Regions from separate parts of the Homo sapiens genome. Here all the other regions are linked to region 3. Evidence: promoter capture Hi-C in human tissues and cell types (Jung and others, 2019). All regions are on one chromosome and are shown on one strand. The core of a region is centred on a gene start or on the middle of the fragment in contact, and the rest is flanking DNA. Distances in the headings are between cores, read along the strand shown. Region 1 overlaps LINC00840 (long intergenic non-protein coding RNA 840). Region 2 has its middle 160 kb from the start of LINC02659. Region 3 holds the start of CXCL12 (C-X-C motif chemokine ligand 12).

The links. Contacts are between HindIII fragments. The study calls those that stand out against the background at their distance.
Region 1: a fragment that was not itself captured here is called in contact with the fragment with the promoter of CXCL12 in region 3 in 1 of the 25 tissues and cell types used here (lymphoblastoid cells).
Region 2: a contact is called between a fragment that was not itself captured here and the fragment with the promoter of CXCL12 in region 3, in 2 of the 25 tissues and cell types used here (IMR-90 fibroblasts and aorta).

Annotation. Positions count from the first base shown.
Region 1 is chr10:43,886,595-43,890,660 of GRCh38, forward strand. The region is part of intron 4 of LINC00840 (long intergenic non-protein coding RNA 840); the gene reads left to right. Among named protein-coding and RNA genes, the nearest start is that of LINC00841, 21 kb to the right of the region's middle. The HindIII fragment of the contact is 5,785 bases long and covers 1-4,066 here.
Region 2 is chr10:44,074,366-44,078,619 of GRCh38, forward strand. No RefSeq gene overlaps it. Among named protein-coding and RNA genes, the nearest start is that of LINC02659, 160 kb to the left of the region's middle. The HindIII fragment of the contact is 3,561 bases long and covers 150-3,710 here.
Region 3 is chr10:44,383,394-44,387,285 of GRCh38, forward strand. CXCL12 (C-X-C motif chemokine ligand 12) reads right to left here and starts at 1,704. Exons shown (of 3, transcript NM_199168.4): 1 at 1,552-1,704. The coding sequence starts at 1,612. RefSeq lists enhancers at 1-647, 648-1,339 and a silencer at 3,233-3,442. The HindIII fragment of the contact is 18,967 bases long and covers 1-3,892 here.

The sequences.
Region 1 (4,066 bases), core at 302-2,801, 500 kb before region 3:
TATTACAAAGCAGTAATAATCACACGGTATGGTATTGGTATAAAAACACTCATACTGTATATACCAATGGAACAGAACAAAGAGTCTAGAAATAAGTGCAAGTATACATGGTCATCTAATCTTTGACAAGGCCACCCAGAAGACAAGATGGGGAAAAGATAATATCTTCAATAAATGGTGTTGGGAAAATTGGATGTCCACATGCAAAAGAATGAAACTGGATCTTTATCTTACACCTTCATGAAAATCAACTCAAAATTGATTAAAGACCTAAACGTAAGATGTGAAACGATAAAATTCCTGGAAGAAAACACAGGGGAAAAGCTCCTTGATATTGTCTTTGGCAATGATTTTTTTAAAAATATGACTCCAAAAAGCACAGGCAACAAAAGCAAAAACAAACAAGTAAAGACTACATCAAACTAAAAGTCTTCTGCACAGCAAAGGAAACAATTAACAAACTGAAAAGGCAACTAATGGAGTGGGAGAAAATATTTGCGAGCCACATATCAGATAAGGGCTAAAATCCCTATGGAGTTCATACAACTCAATAGCAAAAAAAACAAACAACCTAATTAAAAAATGGGCAAATGGCCTGAAAAGATATTCCTCCAAAGAAGACAAAAAAAATGGCCAACGGGTTTAAGAAAAGGTACTCAACATCACCAGTCATTGGGGAAATGCATATTAAAACCACAATGAAGTATCATCCTACACCTATTAGGATGGCTATTGTAAAAATGACAAGAGATAACCAGTGTTGATGAAGGCACAGAGAGAAGGGAATCCTTGTACCCTGTTGGTGGGAATGTAGATTTGTGCAGCCATTATGGAAAACAGTATGGAGGTTCCTAAAGAAAATAAAAATAGAACTTCCATACGACCCAGCAATCCCACTTTTGGGTATATACTCAAATGAAATCACCACGTTGTAAAGATATCTGTACTACCATGTTCATGGCACCATTACTCACAATAGTCAAGATATGGAAACAAGCCGTGTCAATCAAAGGATAACTGGATAAAGAAAATGTGGTAGATATACACAATGGAATGTTATTCAGCCTTTAAAAAGAAGAAAATCTTGCCATGTATGATAATATGGATGAAACTAGAGGACATTATGCTAAATGAAATAAGCCAGACAGAGAAAGAAAAATATGGCATGATCTCACTTAGATATGGAGTCTAAAAAAGAAAAACCATGAATACGTAGAAACAGAGTAGAAAGGTGGTTACCAGAGGTGGAAGCAGGTGTGGGGGAAGTGGGGAGATATGGGTCAAAGGGTATAAACTTGCGGTTATCTGAAACGGTAAGTCTAGAGACCTAATGTACAGCAAATGGACTAGAGTTAAATCTGTTGTATATTGAAAATTTGCTAGAGTAGATTTTAGGTGCTCTTGTCACATACATACACACAAAAGAAAATGTAACTATGTGAGATGATTGGTGGATATGTTAACCTACTTGGCTGTAGTAACCATTTCACTATAAATACGTAATATCAAAGCATCATGCTGTATTCCTTAAATACATACAATTTAAAAAATAAGGAAAAAACATAATGCCCACATCCCCAAACCCACAGAAGAGAGTTAACTGTTGGTATGTATTCCTCCACAGTTTTCTTAGCTGTCATAAAACTTATATGAGCAAATGTAAAGGATGTTTTCTTTCCTTAAAAAAAAAAACCACCAAAACAAAATTAAGGACTTATTATTTCATTTGTTTTGCAGTTTGCCTCTGTCCCCCCAAATAAATCCTGGACATCACTGTAGGTCAATTCAAATAGATCTAGTATATTCTTTTAAAATTGTTTCATAATATTCCATAATATGAGTATTCTGTAACTTGGTCTTTCTGAGCCTCTTCCCTTCCTTCTTTCTCTTTTCCTTCTTCCTCTTCCTCTACTTCTTCTTTTTTCCCCTTTTTTCTCCTTTTCCTTCCTTTCTCTTCTCCTCCTCTTTCTTCTGGTCTGCACAAATAACTGTGTAACAAAATCCCTGCATTATTTGAGCACCACTGCTAGTCCAAATTGTGACAGTTAGAAAAAGGCATCCCCCAAGACATTTTACTGCCAGAAAACTGTTATAAAATATATACAAATCCATGATGACTAACGGGAAAATGATGCACCTTAGAGTTCATGGTTGCAAAATTTTATGCAGCAGTCCTCACATACTAAGGCCATTATTTATATAAGATCAGATTCCCGGTCAATGCAGATACATACTTTAACTTTTAGTAGCTTCTGCCAAATCATATTCCAAAAATGTTGTAATACTACAGTGTATGCGATACACTGCCCACACCCTCAATAACATGAATTTCTATCTGAAAATAAAAACTTTCAAAAATAGCTTTATTGTTTATTGTGTAATGAAACAAGCTCATTGCCAAAAATCCCCAGAGTCCTAATAGCCTAAGATGGCCATTGTTAACTCTCAGATTAGCATTTTTTCAGGTATTTCTTTATGCCTCTTGAAATAGATGTCAATACTTTTTCCTGATTGGCATCGGACTAAAACCACTGTTCTTCGACCTACTCTTTAAGCTTAACGCTATTGGGAGCCCCTTTGTGGGCCAACAAATGGAGATGTGCACCATCATTTTCTAGGGAACATGCATTGTTTTCCATTCTCACATTCTGGGTGTAGATACACCATTACATAGCCTCACTTTTGGGGGGTTTATGCATTTGGACCCATCTTCACTGTCTTGGATTCTTGAAATATGTTGTGATGTGTGATCTGCTTCCAGATATTACTAATTTGTGTCTTCTCTTTTTTTTCCTGATCAGTCTGAATGGGGGTTTATAAATTTAATTGGTCTTCTGAAAGATCCCACTTTTGACGTCATTAATTTCCTATATTGTTTTTCTTTTTTCTGTTTTATTGACATCCACTCTGATCTTTATTATTATTCCTTGTCTTCTGCTTATTTGGAGTTTCTTTTAAAAATAACAACTATTTTTTAAAAGAAAATATTTTTTCTAATTTATTTTTTAAACGTTGACAAAAATTGTATATATTTATTGTATACAACATGTATTTTGAAATATTTTTACTAGTTTCTTAAACTGGAAGCTGAGGTTATTGATTTGAGACCTTTCTTTTCTAATATAGGCATTTAGTGCTATAAAATTATACTTTAGCTGTATATCACAAATTTTAATATATTACATTTTCATTTATAATTACTTCAAAATACTTTCTAATTTCTGTTTTAATTCCTTCTTTGATCCCTGAGTTATTCAGAAGTGTGTTACTTATTTTTTCTACATAATTGGGGATTTTAAAAGATACCTTTATTTTACTGATTTCTAAAGTAGTTCCATGTGGTCAGAGAACATGCTTTGTATGACTTGTATGATTTTACGTTCACTGAGACTTTATGGCTAAGAGTATGCCTTGGCAAATGTTCCAGGTACACCTGAAAAGGATGTGCATGCTTGTCAGGTAGAGTGTTCTATCAATGTCAACTAGGTTAAAGCTGATTGATAGTTTTGTTCAAATCTATATCCTTACTGATTTTCTTTCTACTTGTTCTATTAGTTATTGATATAGGGATTTGCAAATCTTAGATTCTAACTGACTTTTTCTATTTCTCTTTACAGTTCTATTAACAGTTTTTGCCTCATGCGTCTTGAGGCTATGTTATTAGTTGGTGGTTCATCCACATTTGGATGACTTACCTATCTTAGAATGTATTTCTATTGCCATAGACACATGACAGCTGTGAGTAATAGAGCTCTTGAGTCCTACTTTCCTCAAATCTCGATTGTTTCATTGCATTCCAGTAAGAAGAAAACTCTGAGGAGTGTCTGATAGTCAGTTAATAGTTTTCCTTTTAGGATACTGGCTTTTACTTTCTCAAAAGTATCTGTGGTTCTTTTTTGGACAAATCTTGGTGTATTTCATCCTATATTCTTTTTATCAGGGTACAGTAAACCTTTGAATTATATTTATTTTTTCTTTCACTGTAGAAAAGATCCTAGTTGAATTTTATGTCTTACAATTTTTTTCTAGTCTTTTCTTTAGATATATAATTATTTTTATATTAAAT
Region 2 (4,254 bases), core at 680-3,179, 310 kb before region 3:
AATCTGCACTGGCTATCATGTCATCCACAAATAGGAACAGTTTTATTTCTTTTTTAATCTGTATGACTTTCGTTTCATTTCTTTGCCTTAATGTGCTGGCTAAACCTTTCAAGTATTCTGTTGAGTAGCAGTGTCACATGAAAGTAGAATCCATGCCTCATTCACAATCTTAGGGGGAAAACATTCAGTCTTTTACCATTAAGTACAATGTTAGCTGTTTTGTAGATATTCTTTATTAAGTTGAAAAAGTTTATCTCTACCCCTATTTTGTGACAGTTTTTGTCATAAATGGGTGTTGAATTCTGTCAAATGCTTTTTCAGCATCCATTAATATAGTGGATTACACTGATCGATTTTTCAATATTTAACCAGCCTTGCATTCCTGGAACAAGCCATACTTGGTCATGGTGTATATTCTTTGCACATATTGCTAAATTCTATTTGCAATTTTTTTTCTTTGTGGTATCAGGGTAATATTGGCTTCAGGGAATATATTAGAAAATGTTCTCTTTTTTTCTGGAAGAGATTGTATAGATTTGGTGTGGTTTTTCTTAGATCACATATTAGTCCCTTCTTGCACTGCTATAAAGAAATGCCTGAAACTGGGTAATTTATAAAGAAAAGAAGTTTAATTTGCTCAGGGTTCTGCAGGCTGTACAGGAAGCATGGCTGTGGAGGCCTCAGGGAACTTAAAATCATGGCGGAAAGTGAAGGGGAAACAGGCACGTCTTTCATGACCAGAGCAGGAGGAAGAGAGAGAGGAGGGAGGTGCTATACATTTTTAAATAAACAGATAACGTAATAACTCACTCACTATCATGAGAACAGCACCAAATGGGAAATCTGCCCACATGATCCAATCACCTCCCACCAAAGCCCACCTCCAACATTAGAGATTACAATTTGACATGAGATTTGGGTGGGGACACAGACTCAAACCATATCAGACTATTTGGGAGAATTCTCCAGTGAAACCATCTAAGCCTGGATATTTCTCTTATGGGAGGTTTATAGTTATGAATTCAACATTCCTACTTGTTTACAGGATTATTCAAGTCATTTATTTTACATTGGAGGAGTTGTGGTACTTTGTACTTTTTGAATAATTTGTCTATTTTATCTATGTTGTCAAATTTACATATGTATGTTCATAGTGTTTATTTTTCGTTTGATGTCTGCAGAGTCTAGAGCTATCTTTTCATTTTTGATATGGTTGAATATCTGTAATCCAAAAACTCAAAATCCAAAATGCGTCAAAATCTGAAAATTTTTGAGTACTGACTTGACACTCAAAGGAAATGCTTATTGGAGCATTTTGGATTTTGCATTTTCAGATTAAGGATGTTGAACTATAAGTGTAATGCAAATAGTTCAAACTCTGAAAAAGTCCCAAATCCAAAACACTTCTGGTCCTAAGGATTTTGAATAAGGGATACTAAACCAGTACTGGTATATTGGAATGTCTTCTTTCTTTTTAAGTTTTGCTAGAAGTTAATGAATTCTATTTTCTTTTGCAAAGAACAAACTTTTACTTTCATTGAAGTTCTGTACTGTTTTTCTGTTTTCAATCCCACTGATTCTTGCTCTTGTTTTTGTTTCCTTCCTTCTACTTGTTTTGGGTTTATTTTGATTTTATTAAGATGAGAATTTAACACTGATTTGAGACTTTTTCTTTTTTCTAATGTAAGCATGTAATGCTATAAATTTTAGTCTTGGAACTGCATAATTGCATACCATAAATTTTGATATGTTGCATTTTAATTTTCATTTTCAATGTAATTTTTATTTCCCTTCTTTTAGTTTTCCTTTGAGAGAAGCTTTATTCATCCTTTATTACTTAGGAATATTTTGGGCGAATATATAATTTGGGGTGAACAGTTTTATTTCTTACATCACTTGAACAGTGTTTTGCCCCTCCCTTGGGCCTCCATGGTTTCTGATTAAAAAATCTACTGTAGGCCAGGCGCGGTGGCTCACGCCTGTAATCCCAGCACTTTGGGAGGCCGAGGTGGTGGATCATGAAGTCAGGAGATTGAGACATCCTGGCTAACACAGTGAAATCCCATCTCTACTAAAAATACAAAAAATTAGCCAGGTGTGGTGGCGGGTGACTGTAGTGCCAGCTACTCGGGAGGGTGAGGCAGGAGAATGGCGTGAGCCTGGGAGGTGGAGCTTGAAGTGAGCCGAGACTGTGCCACTGCACTCCAGGCTGGGCGATAGAGCAAGACTCCGTCTCAAAAAAAAAAAAAAATCTACTGTAATTTAAATTATTTTTCCCATGTAGGCAATGTGCTGTCTTTCTCTTATTGCTTTCAGGATTCTTTATCTGTCTTTAGTTTTTAGAAGTTTGACTGTGGTGTATCTTCGAGTGAATTTCTTTGAATCTATCACGTTTGGAATTCATTTAGCTTCTTGCATCTCTAAATATATAGATTATTTTGGCCACATTTGTTAATTTAGCATTGTTTTTTGAAAACATTTTTAGTTCCATGATCCCTCTCTTCTTCTAGGACTTTGATGACATGCTAAATCTTTTGTTATATTCATACATGTAAATGAGGCTCTGCTAATTTTTTCAGTCTGTTTCCTCGTTGTTGTTCAGATTGAGTAATTGCTATTGCTCTATCTTTAAGTTTATTGATTTATTTTCTTTTGTCATCTACATTCTGCCATTGTGCCCATTCACTGAATTTTTATTTCAGTTGTTGCATTGTTTAGTTCTAAAATTTCCCAGGGGTGAAGCCCACTTGATCATGGTGGATAAGCTTTCTGATGTGCTGCTGGATTCGGTTTGCCAGTATTTTATTGAGGAGTTTTGCATCGATGTTCATCAGGGGTATTGGTCTAAAATTCTCTTTTTTTGTTGTATCTCTGCCAGGCTTTGGTATCGCGATGATGCTGGCCTCATAAAATGAGTTAGGGAGGATTCCCTCTTTTTCTATTGATTGGAATAGTTTCAGAAGGAATGGTACCAGCTCCTCCTTGTACCTCTGGTAGAATTTGGCTGTGAATCCATCTGGTCCTGGACTTTTTTTGGTTGGTAGGCTATTAATTATTGCCTCAATTTCAGAACCTGTTATTGGTCTATTCAGAGATTCAACTTCTTCCTGGTTTAGTCTTGGGAGGGTGTATGTGTCGAGGAATTTATCCATTTCTTCTACATTTTCTAGTTTATTTGTGTAGAGGTGTTTATAGTATTCTCTGATGGTAGTTTGTATTTCTGTGGGATCAGTGGTGATATCCCCTTTATCATTTTTATTGCATCTATTTGATTCTTCTCTCTTTTCTTCTTTATTAGTCTTGCTAGTGGTCTATCAATTTTGTCGGTCTCTTCAAAAAACCAGCTCCTGGATTCATTGATTTTTTGAAGGGTTTTTTGTGTCTCTGTCTCCTTCAGTTGTGCTCTGATCTTAGTTATTTCTTGCCTTCTACTAGCTTTTGGATATGTTTTCTCTTGCTTTTCTAGTTCTTTTAATTGTGATGTTAGGGTGTCAGTTTTAGCTCTTTCCTGCTTTCTCTTGTGGGCATGTAGTGCTATAATTTTCCCTCTACACACTGCTTTAAATGTGTCCCAGAGATTCTGATATGTTGTGTCTTTGTTCTCATTGGTTTCAAAGAACATCTTTATTTTTGCCTTCATTTTGTTATATAGCTGGTAGTCATTCAGGAGCAGGTTGTTCTGTTTCCATGTAGTTGAGCAGTTTTGAGTGAGTTTCTTAATCCTGAGTTCTAGTGTGATTGCACTGTGGTCTGAGAGACAGTTTGTTATAATTTCTGTTCTTTCACATTTGCTGAGGAGTGCTTTACTTCCAACTATGTGGTCAATTTTGGAATGAGTGCAATGTGGTACTGAGGAGAAAGTATATTCTGTTGATTTGGAGTGGAGAGTTCTGCAGATGTCTAATAGGTCCGCTTGGTGCAGAGCTGAGTTCAATTCCTGGATGTCCTTGTTAACTTTCTGTCTCGTTGATCTGTCTAATGTTGACTGTGGGGTGTTAAAATCTCCCATTATTATTGTGTGGGAGTCTAAGTCTTTTTGTAGGTCACTAAGGACTTGCTTTATGAATCTGGGTGCTCCTGAATTGGGTGCATACGTATTTAGGACAGTTAGCTCTTCTTGTTGAATTGTTCCCTTTGCCATTATGTAATGGCCTTCTTTGTCTCTTTTGATCTTTGTTGGTTTAAAGTCTGTTTTATCCGAGACTAGGATTGTAACCCCTGCTTTTTTTTGTTTTCTATTTGCTTGGTAGATCT
Region 3 (3,892 bases), core at 454-2,953:
CCAGGTCAGTTGCACCCATAACTCAAAGACCGAGGTTCCTCATTCCAATCCTCTCTCCAGCCCTCCGGGGAGGGGGCAGCACCATTTCCCAGAGCGGCGCACTGTGACACCTCCGCGCTCATCCCACCAATCAGTCAATAACTGCCCAAACCAGAGACCTTACAGGAACAGAAGAATATCCAGCAATAAAAACTAGAAACATGCCCCATGACTTGCGGGGGGGGGGGGGGGTCAGTGTGCAGACACAGCCTCAGGGACTTTTCATCAACGACGAACATTCCCAATTGCCTTCAGTCTGTGTCCTTAACACTTAGGCAGTCCGCCACGACCCCAGGCTGCCCAGCTTCTCCAGCCCGACTCAGCTGCGCTGGTCCTGCTCACACCAGCGCACAGTCCAAGCCAGCTAGGACGCCGGGGCCACGTCTGCACCAACCCAGCCAAGGGCTCGAGGCGCGCTGGGCCTGCACAGCCCGCGGCTGCAAGAGCACTCAGAGTGTCCTTCAACTCTTTGCAGGAAACTTCACAGCCAAGGAAGCTCAGCGGCCTGAGCCACAGGGTTTTGTTTTGTGTGTTCAGAGGCAACAGTTTATTTTGGTTTGCATCGGTGTCCTGTGACAGCGCAGCGAGTTTCTCTTCAGCGAAAGAAAAGAAAAAAGCCCTCTCCCAGTGAAACGGGACACCACGGTTCCCAGTGGCCCAGGGCCTTGGAGATTGAACTTTGCTGCAGCTCTCATTCTGGGGCAAAGCGCTTGGCCAGCTGGTGACAAAAGAGCCTGTCTGCAGGTGTGTTTGGGGAGCTGGGGAGGGGGCGTGTGAGGCTCGGAGGGTCCCTGGGCCTCTCTCAGGTGAACCCGAGAAGAGACAGGAAGACAGCGGCTGGACGCGCGCCCAGGTCCGCGTCGCTGCGGACCGCGGAGCTGTGCAGAAGCGCGGCCTGGCGGGTGGCACAAGCCCGACAGCTGCGCCGCGCAGCCCGCCCGCGCCTGGCCAAGAGCCCCGCGAGGGTGTGGGGAGAGGATCGGCTTCGCAGGGAGCGGAGGCTGCGCGGCTGCATCGGACCTCACAGCCTCAAGTCGCGGCATGAGGCGAACTTTGCAAAGCGCGCTCTCGCCATGCACCGCCCGACCTCCAGCACTGTGCGCAGCAGGACCTCGGAGCCCATTCGCCTGTGGAAACCGAGCCCGCAGCGGGAAGGCAGTGGGTGGAGGGTGGGCAGGCAGGGGTCTGGGGTCCGCGGCTCCCCACCCTCGCGCCTTCCCGCGCCAGTCCCGAACGCTCTCTTGGGGCGTTCCTGCCCAGTTGTCCCGGCTGACCTCGCTCTGCAGCCAGCTTGAGGTCAGGCGGTCGCTCTCTGCAGGTCACAAACCCTCGGCGCAAAAGTAGGGCTTTGAACGCGACACCGCACCAGAGCGCCCAGCTAAGCGAGCTGCCTCCACCCCCACTGTGTCGGGCGGCGCAAACTGCGGGCGCAGGCAGAGGAGCCGCGGCTCTGCGCCGGGCGGGAGCCGAAGCCCAGAGCCTCGCCAGGGCCTCCCCGCCGAGCGCACTTACCGTCGCTGAGGCAGAGCGCGGTCAGCACGAGGACCAGCACGACCACGACCTTGGCGTTCATGGCGCGGGCGGGCGGGCGGGCGGGCGGACGAGCGCGGGTCGGGGGCCGGACGCCGAGCGGGCAATGCGGCTGACGGAGAGTGAAAGTGCGGCGGTGGGAGGCGCGCGCCGGGCGCTTTAGAGGGGAGAGCCAGGCGGGGCGGGGCGGGGCGCGCGGTGAGGGGCGGGCCCGGAGCCGAGTGCTGGCCGTGGCCGGGGTCTCTGACGCGCGACTCCCTCGGCGGCACCCCCCACCCATCCCCTTCGCCCCTCCTCCGCTCCCTCTGTGCTCCCGAGGCGCAGTGCGCTCCGGCCTTTGACCTTCTCAGGCTCCGCTGGGCCCCGCACCGCTGGCCCGGTCTGCAGTGAGGTCCGCAGCCTGAGCGACGCCGGCTGGAGGGCCGCTTATTGTCCCTGTGACAGGGCCCCACTGGAGAGACTGAGGACCTTAGGCGTAAAGTGGGGCGCGCGTGGAAAGCTGCGGGACGGGGCCTTTCGATGGCGGGAACTGAATGAGAACCAATGAAAAGCAAACAAGTTAGTCCCGGGCGGAGGGCCTGCTGGCGGTGGCGGCCCAAGGCAGCCGAGGGGGTCCTGCTTTCTGTGCGTGGGGGCTCAAGCTCGCCACCTGCCCGGCTTGCGGCGCAGCCGCCGGCAGAGCTCGATCTGCGGGAATGAGACCCGTCTTTGCAGTCAGCGTGGCTCGGACTCCAAGCCCACGGCGCCACCAGCCGAGCCTCAGTTTCCTCGCCTGTACAAACAAAGCAGAAGGCGCCGGCGGCTCTCAGTAAAAGCGAATGTAGCCTTTGTACTTCCGACCTCTCAATGGTGAAATGAGCTAATCACAGGCCCACCCCGCGGAGTGGGACGGGAGATTCAATGAGACCCGCCCCACGCCGCGAAATTCTCTGCATCGTGTCTGACAAGCAGACAGTACTCAATAAATGGTAGCTGTAAGTAAGTCCTTTAAACCTAAGTACTTACTGCCTTACCCAAGAAAAGCTCCGTGCGACCCAAAGAGCTGAGAACTCCCCCACCCCGACCTCCGACTCCTAGGACAGTACTACTGGCGTCTGCCTTCTGGGTCCAGAAAACTCTTCCCACGGAGCCGTCCCTCGGCGGTGCTTAGCCCTCCGGATACCCCCGAGACATCCCAGATGGCCCCAGTCCGGTGGCGAAGGGAGGGTGCAGGTCGGCACCCAGGAGACGTGGGGGTGAGGAGAGCGCCCCTTTGGGCCTCGCTTTGTGACCGCAGGCTGCCCCAGCCACCTCTCTGTGTCCTTCCCAGCACAGCGTCCAGCGAAGTGGGGTCAGTCGCCGCGTCCATCCAGGGGCCTGCCCTGGGGACACGTCCCTGTCCCTGGGGAGTCCTGGCCGTCGGGGAGTGGGCGGTCAGCGGCTGCATTAGGCGGGAGCGGTCAACAGGAGGCTGCGAGGGCTCCGGAACTCCGCTGGTGGGAGTAGGTGTCTTCTGTGCATTTTTTTTCCAAAACCACTTTGGCCGTTAGATGGCTGTGGGCCGGCACTCCATCCATCCATCCATCCATCCATCCACCCACCCACCCACCCACCCACCCACCCTGGGCACTGGGCTTGGAGCCGGGAACCCCACTGACTTGGCCCTGCTCTTAAAGAACTGAAGGCAGTGAGGTCCAGTGAAGAAGGCAGCCGTCGGGCGTCCCCAGGCCTTTGCTGGGCTGGGCCGGGGAGCCTGGCCGCTCACCGGCCGCAGCGCTGGGGCTCCGGCGCCCTCTGGTGGCGGCGCCTCCCTCCCCGCTCCCAGAGCTCTGGCCAGCTCCATTCCTGCGCAGCTGATGAAACCCGGGAGGGCGAAGGGGTCCGCGGGAAATCTACACCCGGGTGGAGGGGCGCCCTGGAGCTCGGAGATCCGACCCTGCGGGAGCCGCGCGCAGCCTCGCTTGCCCTTAAATCTGGCCAAAGCAAACGCCATCGCCTCTCGCTTCTTCTTCTTCTTTTTTTCTTTGCCACAAAATCAGGTGGGCAGCTGGACCTAGGATCTGTCCCAGAAGCCTGAAAGGCCCGCGTGGGCTGAGTCGAGGGCGAACCAGGGATTCAGGCCTGGCCGCTGCCCCTCCCGCAGGCGCCCTGAGGCCCCAGAACAGAAGCTACTGTGGCACCCATGGGGCCATCCCTTCCGCTAGTCGTTCGTTAAATACTTACTGAGCACCCACTATGTGCTAGACCTGGGCTACATGTTTGAAGTAGTTTAGAAAAGGCACTAAACGTTTAGAAGCACATGGCGCTAAGCATAAGTAATTACGCATAAAATACTTAGAAGGCC